3 separate regions of the Homo sapiens genome follow, and regions 2 and 3 are each linked to region 1. Evidence: promoter capture Hi-C in 16 types of primary human blood cells and fetal thymus (Javierre and others, 2016). All regions are on one chromosome and are shown on one strand. The core of a region is centred on a gene start or on the middle of the fragment in contact, and the rest is flanking DNA. Distances in the headings are between cores, read along the strand shown.

The links. The method cuts DNA at HindIII sites, captures the fragments that hold promoters and counts their contacts. A CHiCAGO score of 5 or more calls a contact.
Region 2: a fragment that was not itself captured here is called in contact with the fragment with the promoter of CNIH1 in region 1 in 1 of 17 cell types (activated CD4 T cells); the score reaches 5.2 in activated CD4 T cells.
Region 3: a fragment that was not itself captured here is called in contact with the fragment with the promoter of CNIH1 in region 1 in 2 of 17 cell types (total CD8 T cells and naive CD8 T cells); the score reaches 5.6 in total CD8 T cells.

The regions. Positions count from the first base shown.
Region 1 is chr14:54,439,389-54,443,960 of GRCh38, forward strand. It overlaps CNIH1 (cornichon family member 1), which reads right to left and starts at 1,986. Exons shown (of 5, transcript NM_005776.3): 1 at 1,859-1,986. The coding sequence starts at 1,939. RefSeq lists silencers at 1,460-1,509, 1,520-1,879, 1,920-2,189 and enhancers at 1,595-2,393, 2,270-2,329. The HindIII fragment of the contact is 1,439 bases long and covers 1,124-2,562 here.
Region 2 is chr14:57,394,636-57,399,207 of GRCh38, forward strand. NAA30 (N-alpha-acetyltransferase 30, NatC catalytic subunit) reads left to right here. Exons shown (of 5, transcript NM_001011713.3): 3 at 2,117-2,240. Among named protein-coding and RNA genes, the nearest start is that of NAA30, 6.3 kb to the left of the region's middle. The HindIII fragment of the contact is 1,814 bases long and covers 1,085-2,898 here.
Region 3 is chr14:56,578,871-56,583,442 of GRCh38, forward strand. It overlaps TMEM260 (transmembrane protein 260), which reads left to right and starts at 928. Exons shown (of 16, transcript NM_017799.4): 1 at 928-1,204. The coding sequence starts at 1,045. RefSeq lists a silencer at 996-1,215. The HindIII fragment of the contact is 4,901 bases long and covers 127-4,572 here.

The DNA of each region.
Region 1 (4,572 bases), core at 736-3,235:
TTCCTTAAGCCAAACACAACCTGGTTCAAAACGTAAAAATGTGAAAAAGCCTACCCCACCACTCTAAGAATCCCCATCATCCCAGAAAAAAGGAATACCCATCAAGCAGAATGACTTAAAGCTACATCTACAGATGGAATGGAACCACACACTTTCTTTCTTTCTTTTTTTTTGTTTTTTTTTTGAGACGGAGTCTCCGCCCAGGATGGAGTGCAGTGGCGCCATCGCGGCTCACTGCAACCTCTGCCTCCTGGGTTCAAGTGATTCTCCTCCGCCTCAGCCTCCCGAGTAGCTGGGATTACAGGCGCCCACCACCATGCCCGGCTAATTTTTTTGTATTTTTAGTAGAGACGGGGTTTCACCATGTTGGCCAGGCTGGTCTCGAACTCCTGACCTCGTGATCCTCCCGCCTCGGCCTCCCAAAGTGCTGGGATTACAGGAGTGAGCCACCGCGCCCGGCCATGGAACCACACATTTTCATCAGAGGCCTACTAAGGTTGAGCTAGTCTGTATCCCAAATTATCTTAGGTATTGTTCTTCCATCAAAGCAGGGCTGAAGATGCTCTTCAAATTACTGCTCCTACTGACAAGCATTCTGAGGTAGCAGTTATTTCCGACACAGTTAATAGCCTACATAAGTATTCCTGATTACAATAAGCAGTCAGGTCCTAAAATAATTGTAAACATAATCACACTGCTTAGCAAAAAGGAATGGATTTGTGATATGCTTCCACTTTCGAGACTTTTTTGCACAAGACGCTGCTGCTGTTTAATCATTCTGCCCCTCCGTATGTTTCATAGAAATCCTTGTTACTGGCATGATGAAACCTGACTTAAAATCTACGTAAGAGTGAACGCGGTCATTCAAATTAAAAGCAACATTCCAGAAGGCACTGGAATATGGGGAAAAGAGAAGCAAGTATGAGATAAATTTTTAATGAATGATTTCCAGAAGGCTCTCAAGGCTTTTAATTTTGTGCTAAAGCAACAGAAATTCTTATCTCTGTAGAACTATGTCACAGGGAACTTACGACTTTTTCCTTAGAGGGACCAGTAAGGCTGTGCTTCCACCCTGCAATAGTGATGATGATGTGTGTAACAGAAATAAATACTGCCCCAGAAAAGCTTAAGGTTTCTGAGCATCTCAAAATCAAATGAAAACTCCCTCTACTAAATCAAGCAATCCTGAATATAAGGGTGGCTTGGAAAGCTGCCTGTTGAAACTCCAGCGGTCAAAGTATGATTTGGGGGGGAAACGCGCACATGCAATCAACAAAGTAATCAATTGAACTTGCATCAAAGTTCACCAGGAAACAACAATCTGGAAAAAGAGAAAAAAAGTGATTTGATTTGAAGAGCACCGAACAAGTGCTGAAAAGTAGAGTTGGAAATTCACCCTAAGTAGGTTACATTTTGGCCACAGTTCTGTGGAAACCCTAAAAGAAAGTCAATCTGTATTAACAAAAATTCGGAAAACTTCATTCACACTACGGCCGTCCCACCGCGCTGTCGACATCCTCCCCGGGAATGCAGGGCCGCGGGCCGGCAGAGGTCGGTGCGAACGCAGCGCGGAACCGCGGGCGCCCGCCTGGACCGCGGCCGCCCCATCCAGTAGGGGAGGAGTAGCGGTGCGCGCGGCCTGTGCCGAGGCAACGCGGGCGCGTCCACCTGGCGACTGCGCGCCCCGGCTCCTCCAGTACCCGCGGCCCCCAGACCCCTCGCCGCGCGGCCCGTGCCAGCCGGGCCGCATCCCCGACGCGCAAAGCCCCGGCGGCCGTGGCGGCCCGGACCGCGGGCCCGGGGCGAAAAGAGGCTGTGTTGCCGCCTCGCCCTCCTTTCCCCAGCCCCAGCTACTCACGTGCCAAATGGCGAAGAAGATGAGCGCGGCAGTGAGCAGCAGCGCCAGCATGTAGCAGAAGGCCGCGAACGTGAACGCCATGGCTGGGGAGGAGGAGCGGGGAGCGGCGCCGTTGCCAGCGGAGAAAGGCGGCGCAGGGCCCTCTGGGTAAAACCATTCACTTCCCCCGGCCACAGCCGCGACCGCCACCGCTACCGCCGCGGCGCCAGCCCTCTCAGCGCGCCTGCGCACCAGCCCAGCCGCCCCGGCGCCCTCTGATGGCCGGAGTCTGCGTTGCACTGACATTGTCCGCACAGTTGTTGATTGATTTTTCCTTCCTTCTTGCGTTTATTCTTTCAACAAATATTTATTGAATGAATGCCTAGTTTGTTACAGGTACCGCGCTTCTCGCTTCAGATACAAAGATGAATAAGATAGTACCTGCACTGAAAGAACTTAGTATAGTGCCGGAAATGAACACCTAAATAAATAATTACGTTATTATAACCCCGTAAACGGATGTGTGTGGGATGCTCTGAAAGGTCAAAGAAGGACAGCCAGCCCGCCCTGGAGCATTTAGGCAGGATTCCTGCTGTAGGTGTTTCCTAAGTTGGCCTTAGATGATGATAAGTTCTCCAGGCAAAAAGAAGGTAGAACTGGCAGTCCAAGGAAACAGTTCAGAATGAGGAAACGCAACAGAGATGGAAAAAAGAAAAGAAAAATAAAGCTTCGTGTCTCAGGTGAAACCAGCAGCAATTCTGTATTAATGGAACCTAAGTGCAAGACAGTGGTGAGACTTAGAAATGAATTAGCAAGGGATCAGATCATAGAGGGCCTTATAATGCTTCATTACGGAGCTCAGACTTCTTATCCCATAAGCCCAAATTTTTTGCTCACCACACACAACTAGAAAGATTTTTTTCATTGCAACCCAGTGGAATATCATACAGACATCAAGTTATGAAGAGGTGGAAATCTAGTTATAGAGGCAAAGAAATATAGATATGACCAAAACAAAAATTTCACAAAACTGTACTAATGATCCATAAGTACTTTCCCTTCTCTCTTTTGCTACTTGTTTTTAATGCTGGTCTTAACACACAAAATTGATTCAAAATTGATTTAACTTTCCATTACAACCATTTTTAAAAGAAAAAAACTCTATTAACTGATTGCTGCTGATGGAAGAGAAAATCATTGAAGGCTTTTGAGCAAAAGAAGACCATGTTTAGATTTGCATTAAAGATCGTTCACCTAGCAAATTGCGTAGAATAGTTTAGAAGCAGGGTCTGTCCAGTGCTGTGCAATAGAACCTTCTGTGATGGTGAAAATTTTCGATACCTAAACATTGCCCAATACAGTAGCCACTAGCCACATGTGGCCATTGGGCACTTGTAAATTGTCTAGCATGACTGAGGAACTGAACTTTAAATTTCACATCACTTTAAGTAAAATGTGGCTAGTGTATTGGACAGTACAACCTGTACCACCAGGATTATGTGGCACCTGTGTGCAAATTATCAAGTTACTTTTGGCCAGGCACAGCAGCTCATGCCTGTAATCCTAACACTTTGGGAGGCCAAGACAGGAGGATCACTTGAGCTCAGGAATTCAAGACCAGCCTGGACAAGGTAATGAGATCTTGAGAGGTGACAGCGTGCTGGCAGTCCTCACAGCCCTCCCTCACTCTCGGCGCCTCCTCTGCCTGGGCTGCCACTTTGGCGGCACTTGAGGAGCCCTTCAGCCCACCGCTGCACTATGGGAGCCCCTTTCTGGGCTGGCCAAGGCCAGAGCCAGCTCCCTCAGCTTGCAGGGAGGTGTAGAGGAAGAGGCGCGAGGGGTAACCGGGACTGCGCAGGGTGCTTGCGGGCCAGCTGGAGTTCCGGGTTGGCGTGGGATTGGCGGGACCCTCACTCGGAGCAGCCGGCCGCCCCTGCCGGCCCCGGGTGATGAGGGGCTTAGCACCCGGGCCAGTGGCTGCAGAGGGTGTACTGGGTCCCCCAGCAGTGCCAGCCCACCGGCGCTGCACTCGATTTCTCACCGGGCCTTAGCTGCCTTCCCGCGGGGCAGGGCTCGGGACCTGCAGCCCGCCATGCCTGAGCCTCCCACCCCCTCCATGGGCTCCTGTGCAGCCCAAGCCTCCCCAGCGAGCGCCACCCCCTGCTCCATGGCGCCCAGTCCCATCGACCACCCAAGGGCTGAGGAGTGCGGGTGCACGGCGCGGGACTGGCAGGCAGCTCCACCTGCAGCCCCGGTGTGGGATATGCTGGGTGAAGCCAGCTGGGCTCCTGAGTCTCGGGGGGAAGTGGAGAACCTTTATGCCTAGCTCAGGGATTGTAAATATACCAATCAGCACTCTGTATCTAGCTCAAGGTTTGTAAACACACCAATCAGCACCCTGTGTCTAGCTCAGGGTTTGGGAATGCACCAATGTGCACTCTGTATCTAGCTTCTCTGGTGAGGCCTTGGAGAACCTTTATGTCTAGCTCGGGGATTGTAAATACACCAATCAGCACTCTGTATCTAGCTCAAGGTTTGTAAACACACCAATCAGCACCCTGTATCTAGCTCAGGGTTTGTGAGTGCACCAATGGACACTCTGTATCTAGCTACTCTGGTGGGGCCTTAGAGAACCTTTGTGTGGATGCTCTGTATCTAAGTAATCTGGTGGGGACATGGAAAACCTTTGTGTCTAGCTCAGGGATTGTAAACGCACCAATCAGCGCCCTGTCAAA
Region 2 (4,572 bases), core at 742-3,241, 3.0 Mb after region 1:
ATACAGCTTGATTTTTGCTCCTATAGATTCTAAATTAGGAAGAAATCAGGTCTTAAGAATGAACTAATTTAATATTTTGTTTGCTTATTCCATGCTCAAAGGACAAAGATTTGTTTGAAATTCCTGTTCAGATTGAAAGTACTGTCCAGTTGTATTGTGTTTAATGGTTTTAATTTTTCCTCATTTTTGGATAGTTTTATATAAGGTGTAGCTATTCTGAGGTTTGTATCATCAATCTAATACAGGTTTTCATTTCACCTGAGCCTGGCTTATGAGGTCAGGCCAAAATTTTTTCTGGCCCTTTTAAATATACCATTTGGTCTGTGATAATTTTATGTATGTGTATGTATTTATACGTGTCTGTATATACGCACATATATTTGAAGTGAGTTTCAAATCAGAAAAAGCTTTCAGAGTTGGTCGAGGCGATTTTTGTGCATACTTCAGGTCTTTGTTTAAAAAATTTTTTTAAAAGATTGATGTATTGTGAGGGAAAAAATTAGAAATAACAATTTCAGAGGTTTATTGACCCAAAATAGTTTTGGAATGTGTGATAAACCAGAAATGAATTAGCGTGGGTTGTTGAATTTCATATTCCTTCAAAAGGATTTTTCCGACCTAGTTTAGGTTTGCATGAAATGGATTAGAATTATCTTGCTGAAAAGATTTCTCCACAGTTAAAAAAAGGCCTTTTAATCAATTTACAGAATGACAGACTAAAAAAGTCACAAATTTAAAATATGTATTAATTATAAATTGGACATTACTTATTAGTTTTTTGACTCATTTCTGCTTTTGTTGAAATAGTTTCTTCTGGAAAGTTAATTTATGGAAAACAGACTTCTTACTGACACATTATTTAAACAGTTGGAGATACTGCCCTATTTATATTTACCAGAAATACTGTGTTACTAGAACTTTTTATCAGCATTGGAATTTTTGAAAAACATTTTCAATGGTAACACTAGAAATCTTAATGAAAATGGGGGATGATTAGAATTTAACATGTAGCTTTTAATACTCTGGAAAGCTGTACGTTTTTATTAAAATAGAAATTTCTGTAAAATTAAAGCTTTTAACATAAAGCTTTGATTTTGAACTATAAATATTCTGAGAGCTTTATGACAGTTATCCACACTATCAGGAGTATCCTAAAAATGAGACTATGCTACACTTACATATATTAACAAAAACCTCTTGGGTATGGTCTAAGCAATACCTTATAAACTGTGCTTTTTCTGAAAATTTTTAATTTTTTTTTCCTGATCGAAATCTACCATTCAGGTGTAAATATGTATTATATCTGGCTTTCACTAAAACTTTATTATTAAATTTATTTTCATTTTTTTCTTTTATTGAGATGGGGTCTCACTCTGTCACCTAGGCTGGAGTGCAGTGGCACGATCTCAGCTCACTGTAGCCTCTCCCTTCCTGGCTCAAGCCATTCTCCTATCTCAGCTTTCCAAGTAGCTGGAACTACAGGTGCATGCCACCACACCTGGCTAATTTAAGTAATTTTGGTGGAGACAGGGTTTTGCCATGTTGCCCACGCTGATCTCAAACCCCTGAGCTCAAGCAATCTGCCTGCGCCTGCCTCCCAAAGTGCTGGGTTTACAGGCATGAGCCACAGCACCTGGCCATTATTACTAAATTTAACTGAATATATTTAAATTTACATTCTGCTGATGGGCAAGTTTTACAATATTTTATGTCCTAATGAATAGACTTTTTCTTTATAATCATTTTTTTTTTGCATATTTCCCCTTCCAGAACCTTAGGTCTTTGTTGCAAATAATTGTGATTTTAAGCACCTCATATGTAATCTTATAAAGTACTTGAATGTTTACCTTGTGGAATCTTGTCTTTTTTCCCTAGGCTTTAATAGTAAGCATAAAAAATTCATGTTCTAAAGAATATTGAGAAATTTTAACACTGGAACATTTAAAGGAGTTAGGGGATTTAGATTTCTGAAACTTCTGTGACTGCTGTCTTGCAAGAGTTCCCATTATCTTCCCCCGTCGAAAATGCTTACCAATGGTTGGTTGTTGTTTTCTCTGGATAATTGTGCAGTACCTGATGGCAATGTATTCTTCATAACTGTTTGTTTATTTTTAAGGCCATGGTAGGGGAGGAGTGTGTAGGTGCCATCGTTTGCAAGTTGGATATGCACAAAAAGATGTTCCGCAGAGGTTATATAGCCATGTTAGCCGTGGATTCCAAATACAGGAGAAATGGCATTGGTAAGAAAAATATTATTTTATGGAAAGAATGCCTAAGCTATTTTCATTTTTGTTGTGTTTTGAAATAAAAGACTTAAATGTAAGTATGTAGAAATGAAAGAAACTAAGGGAAGAAAATTAAGGCGGGTTTTAATTTTTAATTTCAAAATGGTATTTTTAAAAAGTTCTTAAAATGAATTTTTTCTTTATTAATGTTTTGTTTGACAGTTTTTCGTTTTAACAAGTAGCCGATCATCAGCTTTCACCTGCAGATTTTTTTAATCACATTCAAAATGCTTTGCATTATGCTAAGTACCACAAGAAATACTGCAATTTATAATTACATTATGATGGTCCTTCATGCCAGCCTTCAAGCACTTGTCTGTATTTGGGTTAAGTGGACCTCAATCAAGCCAAAATTATGGACAAATTGTTACCATTACTTGGTGCTAGTCATCAACTATATATTGCAATTCAGGAAAGATCAGGAGATGAGAATTGATTGTTTCTTGTAATTCCCAAACTTAATTTTTTGTTGGGTCTACTTTTCCTGACATGTTTAGTTAATCTTAACACTCATGATTTATAATGATCATTAGAATCATGTGGGTGGTTTAAAAACATGTATTTGGGCCCCTCACCCTGAGACTCTTGTTTGTCTTGTCAGAGGTGGGGCTGAAGCTTCCCTAGGTGACTGTGATGTAAGCCTGATTAAGAACCACTCTTCTATGGCTGGGTTAGATAACTTTTGTCATTTAAATAACGCCATAAAACTCAATAGGCCACCAGGTGCCGGGTGCGGTGGCTCACGCCTATAATCCCAGCATTTTGGGAGGCCAAGGCAGGTGAGTCACTAGGTCAGGAGTTCAAGACCAGCCTGGGCAAGATGGCGAAACCCTGTCTCTACTAAAAATACAAAAATTAGCTGGGAGTGGTGGTGGGCACCTGTCATCCCAGCTACTCAGGAGGCTGAGGCAGGAGAATTGATTGAACCTGGGAGGTGGAGGTTGCAGTGAGCGTGCCACTGCACTCTAGCCTGGGTGACAGAGCAAGACTCCGTTTCAAAAAACCACTCTTCTATTCTCTAGGACCTAGTGGCTCTTTGTTCACAGTGGAGAATTGGGTAGACAAGCATTTGTCTAAGCATGTCAAATTTTGTGATGTGCTTTAGCTGAGTATTCATAAAAAAAAGTTTAATACCTGTACCAGTATTTAATCATTAGTTTTTTCACTTTCATGTTTTTTAAAAACTATTAAGTGTTATTGTCCAACCTAAGACTCACACACGGTCCTAGGTATCATGAGAAGTAACTATAAATAGGTTTACTTAATATGTTAGGTTTAGCCAACTTTATTGCAGTGTTACAGCTTTCCACTAAGATTTTTAATGAATTGGGCTTGTTTTATGGACTAAGTTTGAGCCTTTGATGCATTAAAAAGCACTGATAAGGACTCATGATAAATTATAGCCAATTGTTTGGCTAGTTTGGAGGGCAGAAACCAGTGGCTTTTGGGTTGCATCCTGGCCTTCAGACATACTTTGTTTGGGCCATAAAATGCGTGCATACTTGTATGCATGGCTTGAAAATTAAGAGTTTTTAATTTAATTTTATTATTTTTTGAGACAGAGCTTCGCTGTATTGCCCAGGCTGGAGTGCAGTGGTGTGATCCCGGCTCACTGCAACCTCTAGCACCTAGATTCAAGCAATTCTTGTGCCTCAGCCTCCCAAGCACCTGGGACTACAGGCACACACCACCACACCCAGCTGATTTATTTTTTTTATTATTATTTTTTTTTGAGATAGTCTCACTCTGTCGCCCAGGTTGGAGCGCAGTGGCATGATCTCGACTCACTGCAACCTCCGCCTCCTGTGTTCAAGTGATTTTCCTGCCTCCGCCTCCCAAGTAGCTGGGATTACAGGCACCCTCCACCTGTAATGCCTGGCTAATTTTTTATTTTTTAGTAGAGATGGGGTTTCGTCATGTTGGCCAGGCTGGTCTTGAACTCCTGACCTCCGGTGATCCGCCCACCTTGGCCTCCCAAAGTGCTGGGATTATAGGCTGAGCCACTGCACCCAGCCAGTTTTTTGTATTTTTAGTAGAGATGGGGTTTTGCCATGACCTCAGCCTCCAAAATGCTGGGATTACAGGCGTGAGCCACCACGCCTGGCCAATTTTTTGTATTTTTAATAGAGACGGGGTTTCACCATGTTGGCCAGGCTGGTCTTGAACTCTTGGCCTCAAGTGATCCACCTGCCTTGGCTTCCCAAAGTGCTGGGATTACAGGCGTGAACCACTGCGCCCAGCCTAAGAGTTTTTAAATAAAATTTGTCTGTCTGCTCTTAAAATCAGA
Region 3 (4,572 bases), core at 1,327-3,826, 2.1 Mb after region 1:
TTGCGCGTAACACGTTTGAGATTGTCACTGGTTTTCAGTGTGTCTTTGAGATACATTTTATGCGGGTTGCTCTCCTCCCCGCCCACTCCAGGATAATTGCTTTAATAATAAAACATAAGCTTAAAAAGCTTAACTGCGCTGTTATGTAGTTGTCCTTATTAACGGCTCCGATTCTTTTTTTTTGCGTTACAGCTCATTGTAAAATATGGTGATTCAATTTCATTTTCCACTTTGCTGTGTTGAAAGCTCCAGCAAAACACTCCTCTTCATTAAACTAGGAGACACCTTTATCATGGTTTGAGTTATCTGCATGAATACAGGAACTCAAATTTCCCGACTCATCTACAGAGTTTTCATTATGCTATGGAATGAAAAAAAAAAAAAAAGACGCACTAGCATATTCTAATCTCTCTAAAAATTACTCAGTGATTTAATAAGTAGCACACAGACTTATTGTAATTAGTCATAGTAACGTAGTAAATCGTAATAAATACATAATTGTGATTAATGTATTTATTGGCTTACTTTGCACATACGGTAAATACACCACCCTTTTTTTTTTTTTAGCACAGGTAGGGGCTCCTGGCTGATCGTGGCCCTTTTGTGCAGTTCCACCCCGCACCGTAGGGGGCAGGAGCAGCCCTTCCTCGCTCGCGGTTTTCGACGCTGCTTTGGTCTCTGTCAGACCCAACCAAGTCAGTATAAAAGGGGGGAATAGCCATGGAGAAGGTAGGCCTGTGGCCGGGCTTGCTTTTTAAAGGGAATGCTCTCCTGGTGATTAGGAACCTTAAATCACATTATAAGTAGGTGAACGCCAATGCGTGGTGCACTGCGGGAAAACTCGCAGGGCCTGGCTCAAGGGAGGCCTGGCATTTTCTCCTCCCCGCGCTCAGGCGGAGAAAGGTGCGGTCCAACCCGCGGAGGCTCGACCCGGAAGCCGCCGTGGCCGCCGCACAAGCTGCGCTCGTCTCTCGGCTGGGGAGCTCCGTGTCGCACCGGGTTCTTGGGCTGGCCGTGTCCTTCTCCCTCGGTCGCCACTGGCCCATGAGTCCCCATGGCGACGGCAGGGGCCAGGCCCAGGGGCGGGCAGTCCGAGTGGGGCTGCGGCGCTCCGGGGGCATCCGCGGCGGCGTGGCGGTGTTCGCCGCCGTGGCCGCAGTGTTCACCTTCACCCTGCCCCCTTCGGTACCGGGGGGAGACTCCGGTAAAGTACTCGCAGGGTTGCCCCTTCTGTCCCTCTCCCCTGGTCCCAGAACGGGCAGGGTCTGCGTCTGGCCCCTGCTCTTGGCATTCGGTCTGGTCAGCTCTGGGCCTCCATCCACCCCCCTGTGCACAGCGCACTATTGTGTGTTCCAGAGCCCACTTCTGTTTCCATTCCTGTCGTTGTGGTTTCTTTAGTTCTCAGGTTTTCGAGATGGGGCGTATTGTTGGTTTCGCCTGGTGGGGCTTATCGACCTCTCCACTTCCCCAGATCTTTTATCCTGGTCCTGAGTATTTACTTTCAGTCTTTTTTAGTCCACAGATATTATTCACGGTGTCCTTATTATGTTTCAAACAAAAGAACAGTAGTGGCGAACAGATAATTGCTAGTGTTCCAGTGCGGTTAGACAATACACAAGTTAATGAATAAACAGCATATTCACTGGTGATAAGTTATGGAGACAGTAGGAGGGAAATATGATTGAGAGTGGGGGTAAGTAGTGGGTCCTTCCGAATGACTATTCAGGAAAGACCTCTGAAGAGGTGGTGTTTTAGTTGAAACCTGAATATTGAGAAGGAACTAGCCATGCAGAATATTTGCAGGAGAACTCTTAAAAAGGTGGAAGCCAGGTGCGGCTGTTTCTATGAAAAAGAAAAGCATGACTCATTGGCCCTTAAATCACACTAATTGTTTTGTATTTGATGCAAGAAACAAGATCCATGTTTTGTTTTTGGATTCAATAATGCCATATCATGGCCAGTAATTTTGTCAGAATAGTGCTGTAATTTCAGGTGGTGAACCTATGGACTGAAGAAGCAGTTTTTGCTGCATGACTAGTGATCCCCAAATTGAGCAGCTTAAACAGCAAACGTTTATCGTCTCCCGTTTTTGTAAATCAGGAGTCTGGGTGCCGTTTAAGCTAGATGCTCGTACTCAGAAAAAGGTTGCTGTCATGGTGTGCGATGGGGCTGCGGTCTTCTCAAGGCTCAATTTGGGGAGAAACGCAATCTAGTTCTTTGCTATGTGGGTCTCCATAAGTTAACTGACTTCTGTCAAGAAAAAGATGAAGGACACCTCTCTGTCTGACAGCTCTGTCATTTTGTAACCTAATACTGTAAGTGATATACCACTTCTGCATTTTATTCCTGGAACTTCGTCAGTAAACCCAACCCATATTCAAGGGGGAAGGATTACACAGGTGAGAATATCAGGACTTGGGGATTAGTGGGGATCATATTTAGGGCTGCCTACCACGTTGAAGATCTTTGATGTTACATCTTCAAATTGTTACCTTTCTTCTTTCAGGTCCTGTTGCACAAGTAGGGATAGTGTTTCATTCGTGTAGTAGGGAGTTTCTGTACAGTGTTACCAAGATTGGTATTTCATAATGGAAGTAACTTTATAGTTGTGAGTTTTGGTGCTGGAGAGCATTATTCAGAGGTTAGGTAGTTCTGTTACTTGTAAAAAAATAAAAAGATTGACAGCTACTTATGGTTGGTTGAGTGTGAAGGATGGGAGTGAGATTTATAATAACTGACGTTTGTTGGGCACTTACTATGTGCCAGGCACTGTTCCAAGTGCTTTATATGGGTTGTTGTTTTAACCCTCCCAGCTACCCTTAAAAGTAGGTGCAATTATTATTTTCCTTTTATAAATGGGAAAACTAAGGCTAAGCTATGCCCAAAGTCACACAAAGTAGAGAAATCAGGAAAAGAAAAGTATATTGACTTCAGAATATGCCCCCTTAACCTCTACTTTTCGTCAAAACATTTCATGAAATTCTTTTCTAAATCCACCATCACATATGTAGTGATGTTTAAAATTTATTTAAAATCATGATTATTGCCTTGCCTTTATTAATACTGTATTTTATTTTTTCCTAAAAGAATAAAGTTGTGTATTCACCTTGAGTTACCAAACTTTAGGTGCTTTAATTTTGTTTGGTTTGATGTTAAATAGTGGTTGCTTCTAATATTTTTATGTTCATTTTTGGGAATGATAAACTGTTTTCCAAGTATATGCCAATATGGAAAATTTGCTTTATCGTATATTTGATAATTGTGTTTACATGTTGAATGCACTATTCTTGAATGTTTATGAATTATATTTTCATCAATAAACAGAACACATCTCAAAACCAGTATAAAGCATGTATTCTTCTTCCTGATAAGTCTTACATTTTACTCCATAGATTCATCACATTGTGTCGTCTTGCCAAAATTATTTTTTGTACCACTTGACACACACAGTTCATTTATGGGCAGGGTGCTTGTGGTGCTTTTCGGGGAGGGGGTAGGAATCTGGCCTTCACTAAATTAGTTTGTACGTGAGTTTATTTCAAAGATACTGTCTTTAACAGATGTGATGTGTGACAGTCTAGTCTAATTAATATTGAGAAGTATGATATAAAGGGAGCTGGTTTTTGTAAAGGTTAAGCATCTGCTGACAACTCTGGGCTTGCCATTAGTTTGTATTGCAGACAACAAAGCCGTGGTTCTCAGACAGGAACGTACTTCAGAATTACCTGGGAAACTTGAGCCCCCAGTGCAAGTGGGTCTTAGTAGATTATGGAATTTGGAGGTGTGGGCAAGGAATCTTCATTTTTAAAAAGCAGGTTAATTCTGATGCAGGTAGACACAACTGAGGAACCTTTCATGTAAAGGGTTGGGAGAAAGCCAAGACTCGGGAAGCTCGAGGTTTTTTTACTATTCCCTTCCTCTTTATCACAATCAATTTAAGAGTAGTATTTCCCTTTAGATCTTTATCAAGGTTACATTTAGAGACGTTGAATGGGGACATCTTTTCTATTTCGATTTTAGTTTAACATTTGATAAGAATTGATGAAAGTTTGTCACATTCCAGATTTATCTTTATAGCAGCAGAAGTCTGGCAAATAATAACAGCACACTGACTTTTCCATGGTAAAAAGAAGTTAGAGAAAAACAGCCTATTTTTCTTAATGTTAAATGTAATTCTGAATACATTTTAAATGGAGGAGAATGAATAGTGACCTTTGAAATTTTGAATTTATGGTGGCTTCGTTACAAAAAGATTACAGGAACAAAAAAATCGAAAATAGTTTGGAGCTAAAGACTTAAGAGCTAATCCATTATGGAGTAAACTATAAAATCATATCCTTTACAGTAGTTAACAAAGGGAACAGTTGTTTGAGACATTGTGAGACCATAAACTATTTAAAAAGAAGCATTTAGGATATAAAATGTGCTGGTTTCTCAGGTGCTCTTGAATATCTCTTAACAAATGTCCTTAAGTAATTGACTTAATCTGTCTTCAGGTGCCCTTATAAGGCTTCCATGATGCAGTCACCTAAGACTGGGGTGTCTTAGTAGCAAGGATGACAATGTGATGTG